Regions from separate parts of the Homo sapiens genome. Here regions 2, 3, 4, 5, 6 and 7 are each linked to region 1. The links are contacts of gene promoters, found by promoter capture Hi-C in blood cells and fetal thymus (Javierre and others, 2016). All regions are on one chromosome and are shown on one strand. The core of a region is centred on a gene start or on the middle of the fragment in contact, and the rest is flanking DNA. Distances in the headings are between cores, read along the strand shown.

Evidence for each region. The method cuts DNA at HindIII sites, captures the fragments that hold promoters and counts their contacts. A CHiCAGO score of 5 or more calls a contact.
Region 2: a contact is called between a fragment that was not itself captured here and the fragment with the promoter of RNF6 in region 1, in 1 of 17 cell types (megakaryocytes). The highest score is 5.0, in megakaryocytes.
Region 3: a fragment that was not itself captured here is called in contact with the fragment with the promoter of RNF6 in region 1 in 1 of 17 cell types (megakaryocytes); the score reaches 5.1 in megakaryocytes.
Region 4: a contact is called between a fragment that was not itself captured here and the fragment with the promoter of RNF6 in region 1, in 1 of 17 cell types (megakaryocytes). The highest score is 5.3, in megakaryocytes.
Region 5: a contact is called between a fragment that was not itself captured here and the fragment with the promoter of RNF6 in region 1, in 4 of 17 cell types (endothelial precursors, naive CD8 T cells, total CD8 T cells and 1 more). The highest score is 7.1, in endothelial precursors.
Region 6: a contact is called between a fragment that was not itself captured here and the fragment with the promoter of RNF6 in region 1, in 2 of 17 cell types (endothelial precursors and megakaryocytes). The highest score is 8.6, in endothelial precursors.
Region 7: a contact is called between a fragment that was not itself captured here and the fragment with the promoter of RNF6 in region 1, in 1 of 17 cell types (megakaryocytes). The highest score is 6.3, in megakaryocytes.

The regions. Positions count from the first base shown.
Region 1 is chr13:26,220,937-26,223,636 of GRCh38, forward strand. RNF6 (ring finger protein 6) reads right to left here and starts at 1,378. Exons shown (of 5, transcript NM_005977.4): 1 at 1,067-1,378; 2 at 312-394. RefSeq lists enhancers at 150-1,031, 1,032-1,913, 1,059-1,438 and a silencer at 559-608. The HindIII fragment of the contact is 7,611 bases long and covers 1-2,700 here.
Region 2 is chr13:26,602,338-26,605,037 of GRCh38, forward strand. The region is part of intron 1 of WASF3 (WASP family member 3); the gene reads left to right. Among named protein-coding and RNA genes, the nearest start is that of WASF3, 46 kb to the left of the region's middle. The HindIII fragment of the contact is 4,088 bases long and covers 1-2,700 here.
Region 3 is chr13:26,558,547-26,561,246 of GRCh38, forward strand. All of the region lies in intron 1 of WASF3 (WASP family member 3), which reads left to right. Among named protein-coding and RNA genes, the nearest start is that of WASF3, 2.2 kb to the left of the region's middle. The HindIII fragment of the contact is 1,995 bases long and covers 373-2,367 here.
Region 4 is chr13:26,622,974-26,625,673 of GRCh38, forward strand. The region is part of intron 2 of WASF3 (WASP family member 3); the gene reads left to right. Among named protein-coding and RNA genes, the nearest start is that of WASF3, 67 kb to the left of the region's middle. The HindIII fragment of the contact is 2,222 bases long and covers 265-2,486 here.
Region 5 is chr13:26,502,929-26,505,751 of GRCh38, forward strand. No RefSeq gene overlaps it. Among named protein-coding and RNA genes, the nearest start is that of WASF3, 53 kb to the right of the region's middle. The HindIII fragment of the contact is 1,125 bases long and covers 811-1,935 here.
Region 6 is chr13:26,692,898-26,695,703 of GRCh38, forward strand. All of the region lies in intron 1 of LOC107984597 (a long non-coding RNA gene), which reads right to left. Among named protein-coding and RNA genes, the nearest start is that of GPR12, 66 kb to the right of the region's middle. RefSeq lists an enhancer at 2,773-2,806. The HindIII fragment of the contact is 2,846 bases long and covers 1-2,806 here.
Region 7 is chr13:26,640,688-26,643,387 of GRCh38, forward strand. It overlaps WASF3 (WASP family member 3), which reads left to right. Exons shown (of 10, transcript NM_006646.6): 3 at 1,574-1,716. The coding sequence starts at 1,584. Among named protein-coding and RNA genes, the nearest start is that of WASF3, 84 kb to the left of the region's middle. The HindIII fragment of the contact is 1,185 bases long and covers 800-1,984 here.

The sequences.
Region 1 (2,700 bases), core at 128-2,627:
TTACAAATTCAAGGATTTTTTTCACTGTGGTTATTTTATTATGTCATTTTGAACAAATGACCTAGTAACATTATCCACTCAAATATGAATTAACACTACTAAAAACTCAAGATCTCTATCTTCAGATTAAGACCATAATTAGCAAAGAGCATATTTCGTAGGTACAGCAATAATAGGATTTTTGTAATAAATAATTTTACAAGTTGAAGCCTATCATAAAATCAAGTTACCCTAATATTATTTAAAACTTGAGCTTCTCCTTAAAGGTAATTTTCTTATACAGTTAATCACAATGAAAACAAAGCGAATACCTTATTTTCCTTTCAACACGCTTTTAACATATGCCATGGTATCCATCCTTCAATTGTTTGTGCCTTTTTTGAGAGCTGCCCATCTGAAGCAATAAAAGAGAGTTGAATAATTCAATAAACTGTTTCTTTAAAGGCCAGGAACGGGTGGTAGTCTCCCCACTCTGCTGCAAAGCCAAAGCAAATTCTCCAGTGGATTTTGTTAGACACATCTAGAAAATTAGATCCCCATACAATTAGGTCACGAAAACCTCCCGCAAGGCCCCTACCTTCCGCAACAAACTTAGGCCTTTCGTCCTACACTGTCACTGTTCCTGGGTTTACGCCTCCTCTCTCAAAGGCCTTCCTTCCTATCCCGTTCCCATTCGGATGTTACCAGGGTTAGGCGTCTCCGGCTTACTTCTAAACCTTGACTTTCTTGCCACCCCCGCCCTCCGTCCCGCTACTGGTTTCTTTCCCGGCCGTTGCGACGGAAGCTCGCGCCGGGGGACGATCCCCACTACGATAAATAAAGTGGGCTCAAGAGGCCCAACCAACCTCTTCCCAACCGAGCCTCAAGTAACGCTTCCCTTAGAGACCTAGATTCTCACAAGGAAGCAGGTGATAGACGGTGCATCCCAACCAATCACCAGCCAGCGGAGCGCAATAAGAAGGCAGTTAACCAATCGGAGAAGAGATGGGTGGCTCGAAGGATGGCCTGCTTTCCCCGGCGTCTCCAGGAAGTAGTGGTGGGACCCAGATCTTTCCCTCGAGCCCACCTCTCCAGGTCTTGGGCCTTCGCCCTCCTGTCCGGAGAACGTGTGCTGTGGGCGGCCGTTCTCTCGGGTGCTGGAGGCTGTGGTTGGGAGGCGGGATAGGCTTGCCGCCGCGCCTCCGGAGCCCGCTGTGCCCTCGAATTGGCCACTGAGGAGAGAAGCCGGAAGCCCGTGCTGCAGCGTGGGGTCGTCCAGCTGGAGGGGATACTCGGGAGGAAGAACGGCAGGCCCCAGCCCTTCTTTCCCGACAGCCACGCCGCCCACTTGGCGGCGGGGAGTCGCTCCGCAGCCGGCCCGGAGCTCGCCCGTGCAACTGAAAACTGCGTCCGTCGGGAGCTAGGGTGCCTGGCGTCCCGCGTTCCGCCCTCTTGCGCCGCCCTTACAGTGCCTCCTCCTCGAGGCCAAATGCCCGGCCGCTCAGCGCTCGTGGCAGCCGCGTAGTTGCAGAGACACGGTCTGCTTTCCAGGCTTGGGAAGTCCCAGCACTTAACTCTGCGCGTCGGTGTCGCTCGTTTGCCAGCCAGACTATAAAGTGCACCCAACGGTGTATGCGTCTCTTTACTTCCGGGTGTAACGTACTACCCAGCCAGGCCCTTTCCCTTGCTGTGCTTTGGAACCTGGAAATTACAAACCCTAATAAATTCTGAAGTCTGTCTGTCTGTCTATCTCTATTTGAGACAAGGTCTCATCCTGTCGCCCAGGCTAGAGCGATCGTAGCTCACTGCAGCCTCCAGCGATCCTCCCTCCTCATCCCAGTAGCTGGAACTACAGGCGCTTGCCATTAATTTCACATTTTTTCTTTTGTAGAGACGGGGGTCTCGCTATGTTGCCCAGGCTGGTTTCGTACTCGGCCTCAAGCAATCCTCTCACCTCAGCAAAATGGGATTACAGGCATGAGGCACCGCACCCCACTATATTTTGTGTTTTTTCACCTTCCCGCTAGGAAAGCAGTTTGAAACTCCCAACATTCCTCCCTCTGATTTTATTTCTGAGATGTGAGGCTTACTAAACTTACCTCACCGTTAGTTAAGATGCTGAGTAGGTCTCTGTCTAACCTGGTATAGTCCCCTTTCCTGACATCCCTACCATCTGATGACTTCATCACTGGAGAGTGCTCACAATGCCGTTACTTGTTATTCTTCCGTTTGTTCTTTCATTTCTGCATTAACTTTTGAGGAACTACCATATCCCCATTATTATGCTGGGCACCTGGATAACAAGCTACATGCAGTCCTTAGCATCAATGAGCTACCAGTGTAGTAAGGATCTATGGACAAGTGTTTAAAATAAGCATATGGATATGGATACTAAAATGGAAATATATAAAACAGCCTAGAAAGCCCTTCCAGATCTTTCTTCTGCTTACATTTACAGGCTGTTGTCTTGGCACTCCGAAACTGCTTGAAGTTCCGCCACAAGATATGGGAACTCCTAAGCAACCCCCAACTCCACTTTTACCTAATTTCCTCTGTCTCCCAAAACTCAGCTCAGTTCTCATCTTTAAGGAATTTTTCCTGATACCTCTGAAATAACACCCTTACCTCACCCTCCAGCCCGATATTTACACATAAAACTAAGCAAATGTCCCTTTTGGGGGCTCCCATACTCCCTCTATATATAAAACCCTATTTTAGCAT
Region 2 (2,700 bases), core at 71-2,570, 380 kb after region 1:
AATGAGTTACTTAGGTGACTGAACTTTTACATTTATTTCTAGGAGGTCATTTTTTCCTTGTTTTTGTTCGTTTGTATCTTCTCTCATAAATTGTAGTATTCTTGTGGCATGATGGTGGGCCATTTAGTTCCCTGATTACTTTAGATATAGTGAGTTAGGTTTTGACTAGAGGCTCAGGAGCTTTGAATGTAGACATGTTGTAAAAATGGTACTGCTGTGTTTGTCAGTTTTGTTTGAACACATAGGATCCCCTGTGGGTACAGGTTTATGAATCTCTTTGTTATAGTGGCCACTATTATACTTTATCCTCAGAGAGAGAAAAAGAAAAACTGAAGTTATTTGTTGAATTGCACATGAAATCTTTATGTCAGGTTTAGTATTATAGAGGTAATTTTGAAATATAGTTTGATTTTGGAGTATTTAAAAATTGTCATGGTAATAATGAAAAAAATACCTCTGCAATGCAGTATTTACATCTTGCTATTTCTATTTGATAATGTACAGATTTTCTGTATATTTCGTGCACTTATGTCATGATTTTCATTATTTTCTTTGTCCAAATGTAAGACTCAACACATTTAATGAAACTAAGTGGAAATCCTGATCTGGTTATGATCTAACCCGTTGGTATCCAACAGATTGCTGACTGTGTAGTATTTTAGCCCAGGATATTTGTCACCTGATTTTTAAGTCTGAGCTTGAAGAGGAAGGCGATAAGGGCCCATGGGGAGGTAAGAGTAACTGCTGTTGGTACCTCTGTTAAATTTGTCTTTCTCCTGAAATAGCTGTGGAAGTGTGGAGCTGCAGGTATAAGCTGAAGGTAAAAAAGACAGCACTATTCTTCTTCTGGCCAGTTGTAGAAAGCTCAGCAGCTTCTTGTGTCGGGGCCTGGGTGGTACCTTTTGTAGGGGTTGGACTGTAGTTAATGTGAGGACAGATTAGAAAATCTGGTTTCAGAGAGCAAGGTGAGGCTGGAAGTTAAAGGTGTTCCAGCACCTGAACAGGAACCAGGTGAATATTCAGGAATCAAGGTAGGTCAAATCAAGGAAATAAAAACACAAATAACTAGTTGTTTGGTTGAGCAGGTGCTCAGGAGGCAATAGGAAGTCAGAGACCAGGGATGGGATATAGGCATGGGAGAAAGGCAGAGACTCAAACCAGTAAAGGATATAAAGCAACTTTAAGCACAGTTAAGAAAACCTCTTTTGGGCTGTGTGTGGTGGTTCACACCTATAATCTTGGCATTTGGGAGGCTGAGGCAGGAGGATCACTTGAGGCCAGAGTTTGAGACCAGCCTGGGCAGCACAGTGAGACTCTGTGTCTCTCTACTAAAAATATTTGTAAAAAACTTTAAAAAAGGGAAACCTCTTTTATACTTATTTATGATGGCCTGTGAACAACTTCAAGGATTTTCTGGTTGGAGACAGGATGGTGGGGCCAAAGCTAAGGGTAATGCCCTGGTTTGGTTGCTGAAATTAAGGAAAGAAAGACATTTGTCTACCAGGTGATTCATAGGTGGCATGATAAACAGTAGTTTAATGTATAGAGTTGAGAAGACAAAACACAGGCCTCTGAAGGTAAATCCCAGTGGAAAGTAGCATGTGTTGGGTTTCACACTGGTGATACTCCTAGTGAGTTCTGTTGGAGTTAGGAGGGTGGGGTGATCTAGCTAGGTTGGTGTGGTCCTGCAGCCATAGTGAAGAAGATAGAGTCAGTCATAGAAGGAGTGGAGTTTGGAATAAACCTTGGGACTTAGGTGAGATAGATGTAGGTGAGTGTGTCTTCCACCTGTATTTACTGTGTGATTTTTTTTGGATGAGTCTTCCATTAGACTGTTTCCTAATTTGCAAGATAGTTAAACTAATTCCTACCTTGCAGGTGTCAAGGTTGTAGGGGATTAAATGAGATGATTTATGTGAAAGCCCTTTGTAAATGGCACTGTGGATTCAGATGTAAGTTGTTATTAATAAATTGCCAGTTGCAATGGGGAGCCTGTTGGATAAGAGCTTTAATTCATTCATCATATGTAAATGAGGTGGTACTCTTTGCAATCAAAGCTGTTTAATGAAGGTCATGATTAGGGGGAAAGAGTCAGGCGGCTGTTTTTAAGTAAGGTTGGTGTATGCCTGAGATTTCACTTATAAACTTATAAATACATAATTAGTATTGAAAATTACTGTTTAATGTGCATCCGAAGTGCTTTGCATTTTTTTGGTTGATAAAAATAAATGTATTTGAAGAGTAAGTTACTGAACTATAAAAAAAAGAAGGAGTCCATTTAGTAGCAAAATTACACGATGCTTCTCATTCTACATTCTGAAATAGGCTATTTTTAGCATCTCTTTGAATCAGGGATGAATTCTAGTTATAGGGTTCAGTAATTAAAGCAGAGAAAAATACAAAGTAGTTTGGGCAAGAAAATCTTTTTACTTGGGTTGGATTTGTTTCAAGGTTTAAACTGTCATCTCAAGGGCCTCCCTGGAAGCCACTGTTTTTGTAATCTTTGTGGGGTCAAGAGCAACAGAAAGTGCCAAAAGATCAGCCAAGGACACAGTGTCCCACTTTTTTAGAACAGGGGAGTTTTAAAACTTCTGGAATCCTGGTATTTCATAACTGGTGATCTTGTATCTGTGTTCTCTGCACAATCCTGGACAGAGGCGCCAGGGTCCTTTGGTCTCTCCCTGTCTTTCCTGTCCTCAG
Region 3 (2,700 bases), core at 120-2,619, 340 kb after region 1:
GAAGCTTCCTCTCAGTTTGTGGTGCTGACGTGCAATGGCGATTGCTTCTTGATTTGGCCCCTCTGCAAGGGAGAGTTCCCTGGTGGAGACGAGAGTTCTTAATTATTCAGAAACTATGTGATGGGCTTAGGGATCAATGGGAGCATCATAGGAATTCTTTCTCATTTTAAGGTTAATTTTTAAATTAGCGGTTTACTTCCAGCAACAGTCTCGAGTTTTCAAAAACTGAAAATTAAAAAGACTACTTTTCGCAGTTCTTCAAATTAAATGCATAGCAGAACATGGTATTTTAAGATTCAGAGTCTACTTTTTATAAGGGGGAGAGGATAGCTATTTGAAATATTTTGCATCTTAAAAATTAGGTTTATCTAAAGCTTAAAATGCGACTCTATCAAAACTAAGTTCAAAGTATTGTAATTGACTAATCTTTCTATTGTCTCTAGGGCAAATTCTATTGCTTCTTTTTATATGTGCTTTACCCAACTCTCCTTTTCTAGCAGTTAAACAATGCAGTGGTTCTTTAAAGCTAGTTCTTTTATCTGCTTGAGAGGTTAAACAAACGAAAGCTGGGTTTGACCTTTCCCAAAGGCATTCTCATTGTGTCCTCTCCAGCTCCCTTCTCCCAGGGTTCTAATGACTTCAGTGTAGTACTCATTTTTCTTCATCTTGAAAGATTTTCTTAGTTGGTATTCACAAAAGCTGTGTCTTTTCACATGTTTAAATATTGGAAAGTTTGGTCAACTATTATATTTACCTTCCAACCTGTGCTTATTCTAGAACTATGTACATATAGAAATTGTTCTTGCATTTCCAGTTGGCTGACATGAAGTTGCTTAATAGCATTTGTTTTTAAAAAATCTGTTTGCTTTAAAATTTACAACCTAATAGTCAATGATGTGCTTCACTATCTTCAACAATTACGAAAACAAAGGTGGAACACACTTTGCTAAGTGGTCATGCCAACATTGTAACCTCCTATCTCTTGTCAGTGTGTCTTTGTAGTCACACGTTACGGTTCCCATAGAAACCTATGTATGGCAGGTAACCTTTTGGTTATTGGGATGTTTTGATTAAAACAATTGCGTTATAATGCAAGTATTAAATGAATTGTCCCTACTCACGGGCTAGTACTAGTGATCGTCTTTGGAATTCCAAGGACTTTCTTTGAAGAGTACTCCCAGATTGTTTTTCACTTTGGGTGGCTCTCCATTGCTGTAGACCTTGAATCTCTTTTTCTTTTCTTTTCTTTCTTTCTTTCTTTCTTTTTTTTTTTTTTTTTTTTTTTTTTGAGACGGAGTCTTGCTCTTGTCTCCCAGACTGGAGTGCAGTGGTGTGATCTCGGCTCACTGCAACCTCCGCCTCCTGGGTTCAAGCGATTCTCCTGCCTCAGACTCCCGAGTAGCTGGGAGTACAGGCGCCCGCCACCATGCCCGGCTAATTTTTGTACTTTTAGTAGAGATGCAGTTTCACCATGTTGGACAGATTGGTCTCGAACTCCTGACCTCAGGTTGATCCGCCCACCTCGGCCTCCCAAAATGCTGGGATTACAGGCGTGAGCCACCGCTCCCGGCCGAATCTCTCAACTTCTCTTCTCAGTCCGTTTTAAGGGCCCTGTTTCTTTCAAGTCAGGCTTTTTTTGGCTTTGCTCTTGGGCATGTGGAACTAAATGCTTCTGACAGCCCCACACATTCTTCTTCAGGGCTGGTTCTTTACCTGTGGCTTGACTTTATGCTGGTAATACAGAAATATTTTATGCCAGTAATACATAAATGATGTACATTATAAAATAAACAATATCAACACAGAGATTTATAGAGGTAAAAAGTCTTAAGTTTTCTTTTTCCCGTCTTATTGTTGTCCTATTCCTATTTCTTTCTTCAGAGGTAACCATAATATAGGGTGTATCCTTCTGGATTTTTTCCATTTAATACTGTAGATGAAATATATAACCCTGTATGTTAAAAAAACCATTTCATGAATGCCTACTAGGTACCAGGTACTATTTTAATCACTAGGGTTGCAAAAATAAGAGACAGACGCTTTCAAGATGTTCATAGTCTACCAGGACAAGCAATTACAGTGCAGTGTGATAAGTACCATGATAGAGTCAGTAATCAGTGAGGGATGTAGGAGCCTCATGCATGACCTAATCCATTCATTCATTTGCTTTATTCATTCAGTACACTTCAGAGTTTTAATATGTGCCGGGGATACAGAGATAAACAAGACAGATACCTCTGTCAGCCCCCGATGAGCTTGCTGTGCAGTTCAGTCTCAAAGAGTTTTAACCGTTGGTTACAATGTATTGTTTGATATGGGATCTGAAAGGGGCCAGCAACAAGAGCTCAGAGGAGGACCATAAACCCAAGCTTAGGGACGTTCAGAGAGACAGGAAAGCCTCCCAGAGGAAGCACCATGAGAAGGAATTGGTCGAAGTCTGGGTTGAGGAGAGGGTGTACAGAGAGATGGTCAGGGAGGTGATGCACTGGAGCAACCACAAACACCAGGAGTTCAGTCCAGTGGGGGTGGTTGTGGGCAAGGGCAGGGAAGTGGCAAGAAGTGAGGGAGGAGAAGTAAGGAGGGACTGTGCCTTGTGGGGTCTTGTGATTACTGTTGTGTGGAGTTCGGAGACCTCTGTGGGCAACAGGAAATGGTTGAAGAATTGTAAGCAAAAGAGGGACACGGTCAAATTTGCCCTTT
Region 4 (2,700 bases), core at 126-2,625, 400 kb after region 1:
CTTTTCTTAAATCCCAAAGGGTGACAAACCCATCTGAGAGTAGACAGGACACTTGAACTGTTTCACATTTAGCAGAGCACAGGGGGAACAGGTAACCATCATAGAAGTGCATAAGAAGAATTCAGCAAAAATTGTAATGCATTCTTAAGGTTGAGTATGGGCTAATGCATCAGTTTAGGATAACCAGGTACCCCAGATACAAGGGGAAGGTTACACTTACTCATAAGCTGTTTTCTACAGCCCTCCACTGGGTACTCTTAAGAAAGCTTATGAGCAAGCCTGGAGACTAGACAGAACCTCTTTTGATCGTGCTGCTCTGCGGGAGGTAATCTCAGCTGCCACTGGGAGACAGGCATGATGTAACACCTGCTTCCCCACAGCCTTCTCTCCTATGACAGAGTTCCCAGGAGGGCAATGAAACCTCTAGCCCATAGGACTCAGCAAAGATCTATTTCTGGCAGAGGTTTAGGAAACCCTCTTTCCTGCCCTGTGACCAGCAAGATCCTCTGCTTCTGGGACGAAGGGTAATTAATAGCAAAAGCAGGACAGACTCTTAGGCTCATAATCTTTCACTGATGCAAAGCAAAGTTCTCTTTCTGCTGCATGAGGGACAGGAACTCTTTCATGCCCAAGACAGGGACAAATATCAGGCAGAGTTTAGTTGTGTTGGAGAAGAGATGCACAGATCCTGAGAAGGCCCCACTCTGAGGTCCAGGTATATGGATCATTCCTAAAATTTAGGCTGGGCCAGGGAGAGCAAGGAGCCTAGCACCTGGTAACGTAGCAATAACAGTCATCTCTGGAGAGCAAGAATGTAAAGAGGAATTTGTGTCACCTTTGTGACATAAATGTCAAGGAACTACAGGATGATCAGGAACACTGAAAAAAGTCTAGCACACTAGGCACAAGACAGCAGCCCATGGCTAGGGGATTTTGATGCTTGGTGTATCAGATAACAATAGCAGCCATCTCCCTCAAACCCTGACTAGGTTGACTCAATCAACCTTAGTAATGGCTTGCTAGAAGAACATGTGAATTCATTGCTGGACAAGAAATACTGTTTACTTAGTCTCTACTGCTTTGCAAATGATATCCAGCATTCAGCACAAAATTATGAGACAAAAAAGGCAAGAAAGAATGACGTGTTGTAAATCAAGAGATAAAGCAATCAGCAATCAATGGAAACAGACTCAGAGATAACTTAGATATGGGAACTTAAAAATAACTGTGATTAATGTATTGAAAAATGTATTGAGAAAAGTCTATATCAACAGAAATAAGGAAACAAGTTTTTAAGAGTTAAATGGAAACTGTTGGAAATGTAAAAACAAATTGGGTTTATTAGCAAACTGGATGTAGCTGAGAAAATAATGAAAGCTAAATCAGCAGAATATAAAAAGGAACAGTGAAACAAAAGAAGAAACAAGGAAAGAGGAAAGTGGAGTGGGGAAGGGGAGGGATGACAAAACCGAGCATCTAAGAACTATGGAACAGTATCAGTAGTCTAACACACATGTAATTGGAAACCCAGAAGGAAAAGAGAAGATACTGTCCAGAAAAAAATACTAGAAGGCACAGTTGCTGAGAATTATCCCAAATTAATGAAAGACAGGAAACAACTAATAAGACAAACAGATCCAAGAATCTCAGAGAACCCCAAGCAGGATTTTTTTTTTTAAGAACCCTCCAAGTTCTAGAAACACTGGAATCAAGTTGCTGAAATACCCAAGGTAAAGGGGAAAGTCTTGCAGGCAGCCATAGTTTAAAGAAAATGAAACATTACAAACAGAGGAACAAGGGTAAGAATAACAGCAGACTTCTTGTCAGAGACTATGAAAGTCATTAAGACAGTGAAATAACATTTTTAAAGTATCAAGAGAAAAAGCTCAAATCCTGTCGATGCATAATTCTATACCCAGCAAAAATATATTTTTAAATTAAAGGCCAAATAAAGAATGTTTCAGACAAACAAAAGCTGAGGGAATTTATTGCCACAGATCTGCACTGTAAGAAATGAAAGGAAGTTCTTGGGCAGAAGGGGCATCAGATGGCGGTTGGGATCTAAACAAAGAAATGAAGAGACCCTGAAATGGTAAAAGAGAATAAATATGTTATATTTTTTCTTATTTTTAATTACATTAATTGATAATTGTCCAGAGCAAAAACAATAGTAATGTGGGGTTTATAAGAGGTAAAATATATGACAACATTGGACAAAGCATGGAAGAAGAAAATGGAAATATACTGTTTATATTAGGGGGTCTCCAGAGAAATAGAACATATAGGATATATAGATTTATGAGGAGATTTATTATGGAATTTGGCTCACACAATTATGGAGGCTGAGAAGTCCCACAATCTGCTGTCTACAAACTGGGGACCCAGGAAAGCCAGTGGTGTAATTCATTGTGCCTAGCTGATGGTATAACTCCCAGTCCATTGCCAAAGACTCGAGGACCTGGGATTGGGAAGGTGGTGCAGGTGTAAGCTTTGGAGTCTGAAAGCCTGAGAACCAGGAGCTCCAATGTCTGAGGGCAGGAGAAGATGGATGTCCCAACTTAAGAAGAGAGAGAGAGAGAGAAAATTCATCCTTCCTCCACTCTTTTGTTCTGTTCAGGTTCTCAGTGGATTGGATGATGCCCACCCACCTTGGTGAGGGTGGATCTTTTTTTACTCAGTCCACTGATTCTAGTGCTGATG
Region 5 (2,823 bases), core at 123-2,622, 280 kb after region 1:
CAGGCAGCTCTCTGACATGAAAGAAGCCCACGTGCAGAGGATCTGGTAGTTGAGTTGACTCAGGGCAAGTCACTGATGAGGAGCTCACTGTGAATCGTGTGAAGCGGTTGCTATAACAGCTACTGCCTGCTAGGGGGTATGAATAAAAGCACGGTTTCTAGAACGCCTGCTGTTTCCTGCACTGGCTGGGTAGCGTGCTGACTTTCCCATCCAGAACTACCCGTTAAGACAGCCAGGAAGTAGATAAGGATGAGACGTCAGGGGTAGCGAGGACTCTGAGAATCACATCACACGGACTGGTTGAAGGAGACGGCACAAGTAGACTGGAAAAAGAAGATGTAGCAATGGCATGCCGGTTGTCCTCAAATATTAGGGAAACTGCAACCTTCTGTTGGCATTAACATCTGATCCCTCCTCACCAAGAAGTCAATATCTTTATCCAGGAGTGACTACAAGAAAGGTCTTTGCCTGGTCGTCTTCTCTATTTGTTGCCCTGGTTCTGCTTCCAATCCTGCGCCAGTTGGCAATGGAGTGCTACCTCCTTTATATCAGGGTTGATTTGCCAATTGTAGACAGAATTCTTCCTTTGTGATTGCTTAAATTGAGATATCAACTGTTAATTTCTCCTCAGTATTTCTATAAATATAGCTATGCTCTTTCTATGCTGCTGCTGCACAGATCCATGCTATGCTAGAATTTTTCACTCATTCGTGCCACAAATATTTGAATGAGCACTTACCACATGCCAGCCCCAACCTAGGCACTGAGATACTACAGTACACAGAGTAGACAAAATCTTTGCCTTCAGGAAGCTTCTGTTCCAGCGAGACAGGCCTAATAAATGTTTTTGAGTGTCTGCAGGGATTTGACTAATTTAATACTCATCCCAACCCACTGGGTAAGTACTGTCATTATCTGCATTTTACAATGAGGAAATGGAGGAACAAAGATGCTGAGCAACTTGTCCCAAGAGACCGACAGAAGGTCCTCCCTCTGCCCCACTAGGCTAGATTTGCCTCACTGGAGTGGGAGCTTCTGGAGGCCCACACGGCACAGACACAGCCTATGCTGTTCTGCTGCAACTGTCTGCTGTCTGGAAATTACTCCTCTCACTCTGCTGCAGTGAGGTGGGAGGTGTTAGAAGGATTGGGGTGTGAAAAGAATGACTTCAAAGTTCAGTACTACTTGAAAAACTGATTACTTCTGAATGACTTTCTGTGTTTCCTTATCCTACAGACGTTCTCAATGTAACATCCTCAGGCTTCCTTGGGCCAACTCACGACAATGCCAGGTACATTTCTTAGAGTAGAGATAACATATTTCTGTTAAAGTAATATATTTTCTTACATGTACCACACTTTGGGAATGTCCTAATCAACTGAGATAACCGCTACATACATTTACCAAAGTGTGTGCCGTGGTCCCAGGGTTTATAGCAGGAGGCACACTGACACTGCTGGAACACAAGGGACTGCTGTCTCCAAAGGCTGGAGCAGATTCTAATATGCGGGATTCAGATGCTGAGTGTTCACAGGTAGTGTAATGTTCATGGCAACTGTTACACTTATTAAATTACTGACTTCCTAAGGGCATGAATCTAATAGGAAACGTTAGATGCCCTGTTAATATTATGTTGCCTGCAAGCATTTGTATTGTTTTCTGATATTTGTTGTTTTCTAAGATTTTGAAAAAAATACTTAATTAGGAAGATAATTTTTTTTCCTGGCTCTAGTGTTAAATTAAGTGGGAAGGTATTCTATTTAGGATCCTCCCATAGAGCTATTTTTCTCTTAAGGGTTACATGCATTCCTTTGTTTTTAAAATTCACTTTAATATTAACGTATTAATTCAGTACTTATTGAGTGCCTGCCATGTGTCAGGTGTTTTTCTGGGCACTAGGAATCAGATAAATAAGGCAGACAAAGCCCCTCATGAAGCTTATACTTGCTGAGAGGGAGATAGCCAATAAAAAGAACACAGTAATTGTATGATACAATGTCAGTTGCTAATAACACTAGGGAGGAAAATAAGCCAGGCTAAGGAGAGAGAAAAGGAAAGGAGAAGGTGGTTTTACATGGGTCAAGAGGCAAAGCATCGCTGAGGAAGTGACCAGGTGCCATGATTTGAGTAATAGCAAGGGAACAAAGGCCACCTCCCCACCCACGTGCTGTGTGACTTGGGCAACTCCCATAATGCTTCTATATTCTCATCACTGAAATGGAGATAATCATAGTACTTATATCATAGGGTTTTTTTTAATTAATTATAGAGTTTTAAAATATTTTTTGAATTATCTTCCTTTCCTTGTCTGCCTACTTTTCTTAAAAACCTATGGTGAGACTGGGCATAGTGGCTCATGCCTATAATCCTAGCACTTTGGGAGGCCAAGGCGGGTGGATCACCTGAGGTCAGGAGTTTGAGACCAGCCTGGCCAACCTGGTGAAATCCCGTCTCTACTAAAAATACAAAAATTAGCCGAGCTTGGTGGCAGGTGCCTGTAATCCCAGCTACTCGGAAATCGGAGGCAGGAGAAATCTCTTGAACCCAGGAGGTTACTGGGAGCTCAGGGGTATATGGAAACTTTCTGTTAAATTTTGCTGTGAACTTAAAACTGCTCTAAGAAATAGTCTATTAATTTTAAAATATTAATTAACTCCCAAGATAAGGAGGGAAATGTCAATTTATTTTTATTTTTATTTTTATTTTTTGTGATGGAGTCTCTCTCTGTTGCCCAGGCTGGAGTGCAGGGGCGTGACCTTGGCTCACTGAAGCCTCCACCTCCTTGGTTTGAGTGATTCTCATGCCCCAGCCTCCTGAGTAGCT
Region 6 (2,806 bases), core at 144-2,643, 470 kb after region 1:
AGGTGTGGGTAACTTGTAGAGGTGTCCCAACAGGGAACTAGATGAGAAGGAGATTTGCTTCCCGAGTATACTTTCTTCCCGGGCCTGGCACCTGGACATTGATTTGCCAAAACACGTGAGCACTGTCCTGTGGATATCTGTACGTGCGATCTTTTAATTGCCCCACTGCATTTGCCCTGTGTACTTGTGATGTGAGTAATTAGCTTTAAATACAGCACCATGATTAGTTAGAGGTGGTGAATTGGCCGATGATTTACCATGAAGAAAAATTAAGAAAATATGCCATTTAAGAGTAATTTAAAAACCTACCAAGTGGTACTTAACGTGAAGTGACATTTAAAAGCATTTCATATTCGAGGATGTGCGTCAGCTGCTGTGGCCTAAAACCAGTTGAAACAGCAGTTTGACTCTGCAGCTGGCACGTCCTGAACCTGTGAACATGACTTAGCATCCGCATTCAGAAGATGTTTCTTTGCATGTGTGTAGGTGACGGTGGTTTGAAGTGTATCTTCTGAGAGCCACACTTGAAGATCTTGATAATTAAGTTAGGGGAGCAGCTTTCAGCTCCTTGACATGTCTTTTAATATTTCAGAGACCTAGCCAGGCATGGTGGTGGCTCATGCCTGTAACTCCAGCAATTTGGGAGGCCAAGATGGGAGGATCACTTGAGCTCAGGAGTTTGAGACCAGCCTAGGCAACATAGCAAGACCCCATTGCTCCAAAAAGAAAAAGAAATCAGCTGGGCATGGCAGCTCACTCCTGTTGTTCCGGCTACTCAGGAGGCTGAGATGGGAGGATTGCTTGAGCCCAGGGAGTCAAGGCTGCAGTGAACTATGATCGCACCACTGCACTCCAGCCTGGGTGACAGAGTGAGACTGTGTCTCACAAAAAAACAACAAAAATCACACACACACACACACACACACACACACACCAAAAATCAAAGACCTGGGCCTTCATTTGGTTTTCCAATTGGGGAATTTCAGCGACATGCCTTGAGGTCGGGGCAGGAAGCAGCATGGTGATCAGCACTGGATGACTCACCATGAAGGGCCCCAGGTTGCCTCCTCCCAGGGCACCTGGCCACATTTCCATTTGCACAGGTCGCAGTGTTGCTGTGGCTCCAGCAGCCCTGTGTCCCTCCTGTCCCTGGTCTCTGGCTCGCCTTGTCACTGTAAGCCTCCCTCCTCCCTCCACCAGCACGACTTTCCTTGCCAGGCTCCTTCCTCACAGAGGCCGTGGGTCCCTGTGGCCCCCACATCGCCTTGGTTTCTGCTGTCCTTCCCTCTTCCCCCGACAGGTGACCTGTCCTCTCCTGTCTTCCCCTGATGCTTCCAATGCCAACCCGGTCAGATCCTGCCACACTGGGTTTTGGGGGTGCAGAAGCCCACATAAGTTAATAAAGGAGCTGGCCCTCTCTCAGCAGAGATTAGAAGTTGTGTCTGAGCCGAGATGCCCCTGGGCACCAGGAAGGAGTCCCCTTCAGTGCCTTCTCAGCTGAGCCTGGGTTCCTCCCAGGCTCATTCCCACAAGGAACCTTGTGGGATGAGCTCAGAGCCAGGGATTCAGATCTGGCATCAGAAGGGCTTGATTTTCGTGTCATCTGCCCCTGTAGGCGAGGTCAGGCACAGAGGGGTCCCCAGTGAGGGGTTCACACACTGAGTCATGCTAAGCTGGAGGACGGGGGACTCTGGGCTCCACTCACCCGCTCCCCTGGTATGCGTGTTCAAATGCAGATTTCCAGGCCCCATCCCAAACCTACTGCATCAAAACCTTGAGCACAGGACCCAGAATCCACAGTTTACCCGGTAGCCTTCTGGAGTGGTTCTTACTAGGCACGCCAGAGTTAGGCCCTGCCCTTCGTGCTGACCTGGAATGATTGACAGGAGCCCGAAGATGCCACCTGCGATGTTCTGGGCTATTGGACGACTAATGGTGCCTCATGGACTCCAGGGGGACCCAGCGCCCTCTCCATCAGGGGCTGTCCCTTCCTCCGGTGTCTGGTTGGCAGCAGCTGAAACCCTGCCCACAAAGGTGAGCTGGGTTATGACCCAGTCGTTTTCATCTTTGGACCCCAGATGGAAAGATGCAGAGCTGCCATCCTTAACTCCCATGTTCCTCTCGGAGCAGCTCTCCCTGTTCCACAGCCCCTGCTGTCTGCACGCCCCTGAGCTTCCCGCTTGGTCAGATCAACGGTGCTGGCCGCACAAAGCACGTGGGAGCCCACGGTCCTGGCACAGGTCATTCAGGAGCTCCTTCCTATTCAGGGCCTAGGGAGGAGAGGTGGGGGCCTGAGCTTTGCCTGTGGGCTGTCCCCACTGATGTTACTCACTGGATGGCCTTCCCGGGCTGGAGTAGGGAGAGGGTCATAGTCTCTGCTTGGGTCCTTGTGGCAGACACAGGGGCTGGCACACTGCATGCAGGCGGAGAAAGTCAGCATGGCCTCTTCTAGCTTCCCCCCACTGGCTGCCGTGACATCAGCCTGGCACTCTTAGGTGTCTGACATCAGCCTGGCACTCTTACGTGTCCTTGCATGGCCCGTGTCCTGCCCCCTGACTTCTGCCCTAGGCTGTTTGCGTGATGCATCTCCTGCGCTGTCGGGCCAGCCCTCCCTCCTCCTCCAGCAGGCAGTGGAGACCTAAGAGGCGTTGCGCCACAGCAGCAGGACCCCACCCCGTGGCCCCAGCTGGGACAGGCAGCATCAGAGGATGCATTTAGGACAGCAAAGGCCTGCACTGATTTTCTTTGGGTCACACCTTTTACAAAGATGTTTTGCTGGGGGCTGTCTGTGGCTTTCACACTTAGG
Region 7 (2,700 bases), core at 142-2,641, 420 kb after region 1:
TGAGCCACTGAGCCCAGCATATCATCTCCTTTTTGAGGAGAGGGGTGAAAGGGATGCCTAGGATGTTGGAGAAGGCTTTTCTGAAGTGTTTGGTGATCCTTGACTCTTATTTAAGTCTGAGGCACTAAAAGCTGGTGCACTCTGGGTGCTTGGGGAGATTTTGACAGGTGTTACTGCCTGGGTGGCAGTTTCAGCAGGGGAAAGCCTCCCTCCCCAGTGTTCATATTTGTAGATCTTTTCTCTTCAAACATTCCCCAGGAAGGAATGCTCCAGTGTTTTTGGATGGGAGTAAAAGCCAGGCTGCCTGTGTTCTAGGAGCCAAGTGGAACAAGAGGTTGGGGAGCTGTCTCACCAGTCATTGTAGACTTTGATTTAGTATTCCTGTTTCCAGTACATTTCCTCCCCTACCTTTAGCTATGCCTAGAGTCCCAAGTTCAAATTCTTTAATTTACCTTTCTTTTCCAGAGAGTAAAACATCCTGGGTTGGGTGGAGGAAGACAGCCCAGGAAGGGAGAAGGCATTCTTAAAAGGAGTTTTAAAAGCCACCCCACCTGTTTTATCTCCCCTCAATTCCCGTTTCGCACTTACCTGGTGCCTCCTACTCCTGAGCCTTTTGTAGGGAGGGAGAAGGTTCTGTGGCTCAGGTGGGCTTACTTGCTTGGGTTGGTAAATGGGGACATTGACCTGCTGCCCCCAGTTAGCAGCCTAGGTGTACCAAAATGCCAGAGGTTTGTCTAGGTCCAGTTGCGTGCCACACAGAAAGCCAATCACTGAGACAATGAGTGTTGCTAGGGAAGAAAGCTTTGATTGGGTGCTATAGCTCAGGAGATGGAGATAAGCCTCAAATCCATCCTCCTGACCTACTAAAATTAGGGGTTTATGTAGCAGGAAGAAAGGTAACTATATGTGAGAAAACAGGAATTAGGGAGAGATAAGGAAGAGGAGTTGGTCAACAGGGAACAGGTGGTCTTAAGCAGTCATGATGGGTGAGGAGTCTGACTTCTCATGGTCCAGATGAGATGATCTAGTAAGTTTTAGTTTTTTAATACTACCTGGAAGGCCGGATGGATGGTTGCCTGAGAAAGCAATTCAGATAAGACAAATGTAACTTGCTCAGGCTTCAAGACTCGGAGGGTCAATTTCTACGTTTATTCAAAGAAACCATAAACACCAGTTCTGTGGGACAACTGGGGTGATGTCATAATGGTGGCCTTTCCTGTCTCTTAATCTGGTTAAGTGGTCTTCAGGTTTGTGGCTTGTGTCTCCTCTCTTGCTCTTGATACATGTGGACTTTTTGCCTTTCCTCTCTCTCCTCATTTCAGTGAAGAGAGAAGTCAGAAATATGGAATATATTATTTTTCTATGAAGTGAGATTATACTATACATGTACCTTCAGGCTCTATAAAACTCACTAAAGTAATTCACTGTTTGTTGCATTTTAGCTGATTCTGTCACATAGAAATTTTAGGATAATGAAAATTCCTGGAAAATAGTCAATTTTCAAGGGAATTAAAATTCCAGATTTGTTAAAATGTGAATATGAGCTTATAAAGAATGTGTTTTCAATTTTCAGATTGTGAACCATGCCTTTAGTGAAGAGGAACATTGAGCCCCGGCACTTGTGCCGGGGAGCTCTGCCTGAAGGGATTACCAGCGAACTTGAATGTGTAACCAATAGTACTCTTGCCGCTATCATACGCCAGCTGAGCAGTCTGAGTAAGCCATCTTTTTTCTGATTACCAATGACATTAACTTTTTGTTAGCAAATTGATTTTAATAGTTAAATGATTGTCCAAAGAAGAGATTGCAGCTTTAAGGAAAAGATCCTTTCTCCTTCTGTATTTCCCAGTATGAAATTGACCACTGCACCTGTACTGGGCTTGTGATGCTTAACTTTAGGCAATGAAGATGTGATGCTCTTACCAACTCACAAATTATTAGATGAGATCAAATGTACAGATTTAAAATAGTGTTAATTTTTAAAAGCTTTTGAAAATGAAGATAATTGGTAATTTTTTAAACTATCAATTATTATGAATTATTTTGTTAAACTTGAATAGGACCAATTGTTTTGTTTTTTAAGTGTAATAGATTGAAAACTAGTTAACACCTGTAATATGCCTGGCACATAGTACCTACTTAATAAATATCTGTTGATTGAATAACATCCCAAATGAACCATAGTATAAAGCCAAACAATAGATTTGCTGATTTTAACCTACTAAAAGTTAAAATGCAGATACTGATTTCTGCATTGAGGTGAACAGATCAGCTGGTTATTTTATGTATATGGTACCACGTATATATTGGCATGCATAGATGTATGGCAAATGCAAGCTAGGAAGAAAAGGCTGCTTCTTATTCTCATTTTGAATATTAATATTAAATATCTGAAGAATATTTTATAAGACTCAAATATGCATGAAAATGCTTTTTCCTTCAAAGCTTTTTGAAGTTGCACTATTTTCCCCCAAACTTTTACATTTATTTTCTGATCTTGTTTTCTCACTTCATCCTGCTCCTTTTCAGTTTAGGTGGTTTATGTGGCATTTTTGGTGACAGGTTTTCACAGTTAAATTTTTCAGAAACTCTGTTAATAACTAGAAAATCTTCCATGAAATGTCCCATATTGGTAGCCTCAAGCGAAGGGCAAATTTTTTTTTAACTCAACTACTTTTATTTATCTTGAAGAAACGCTGC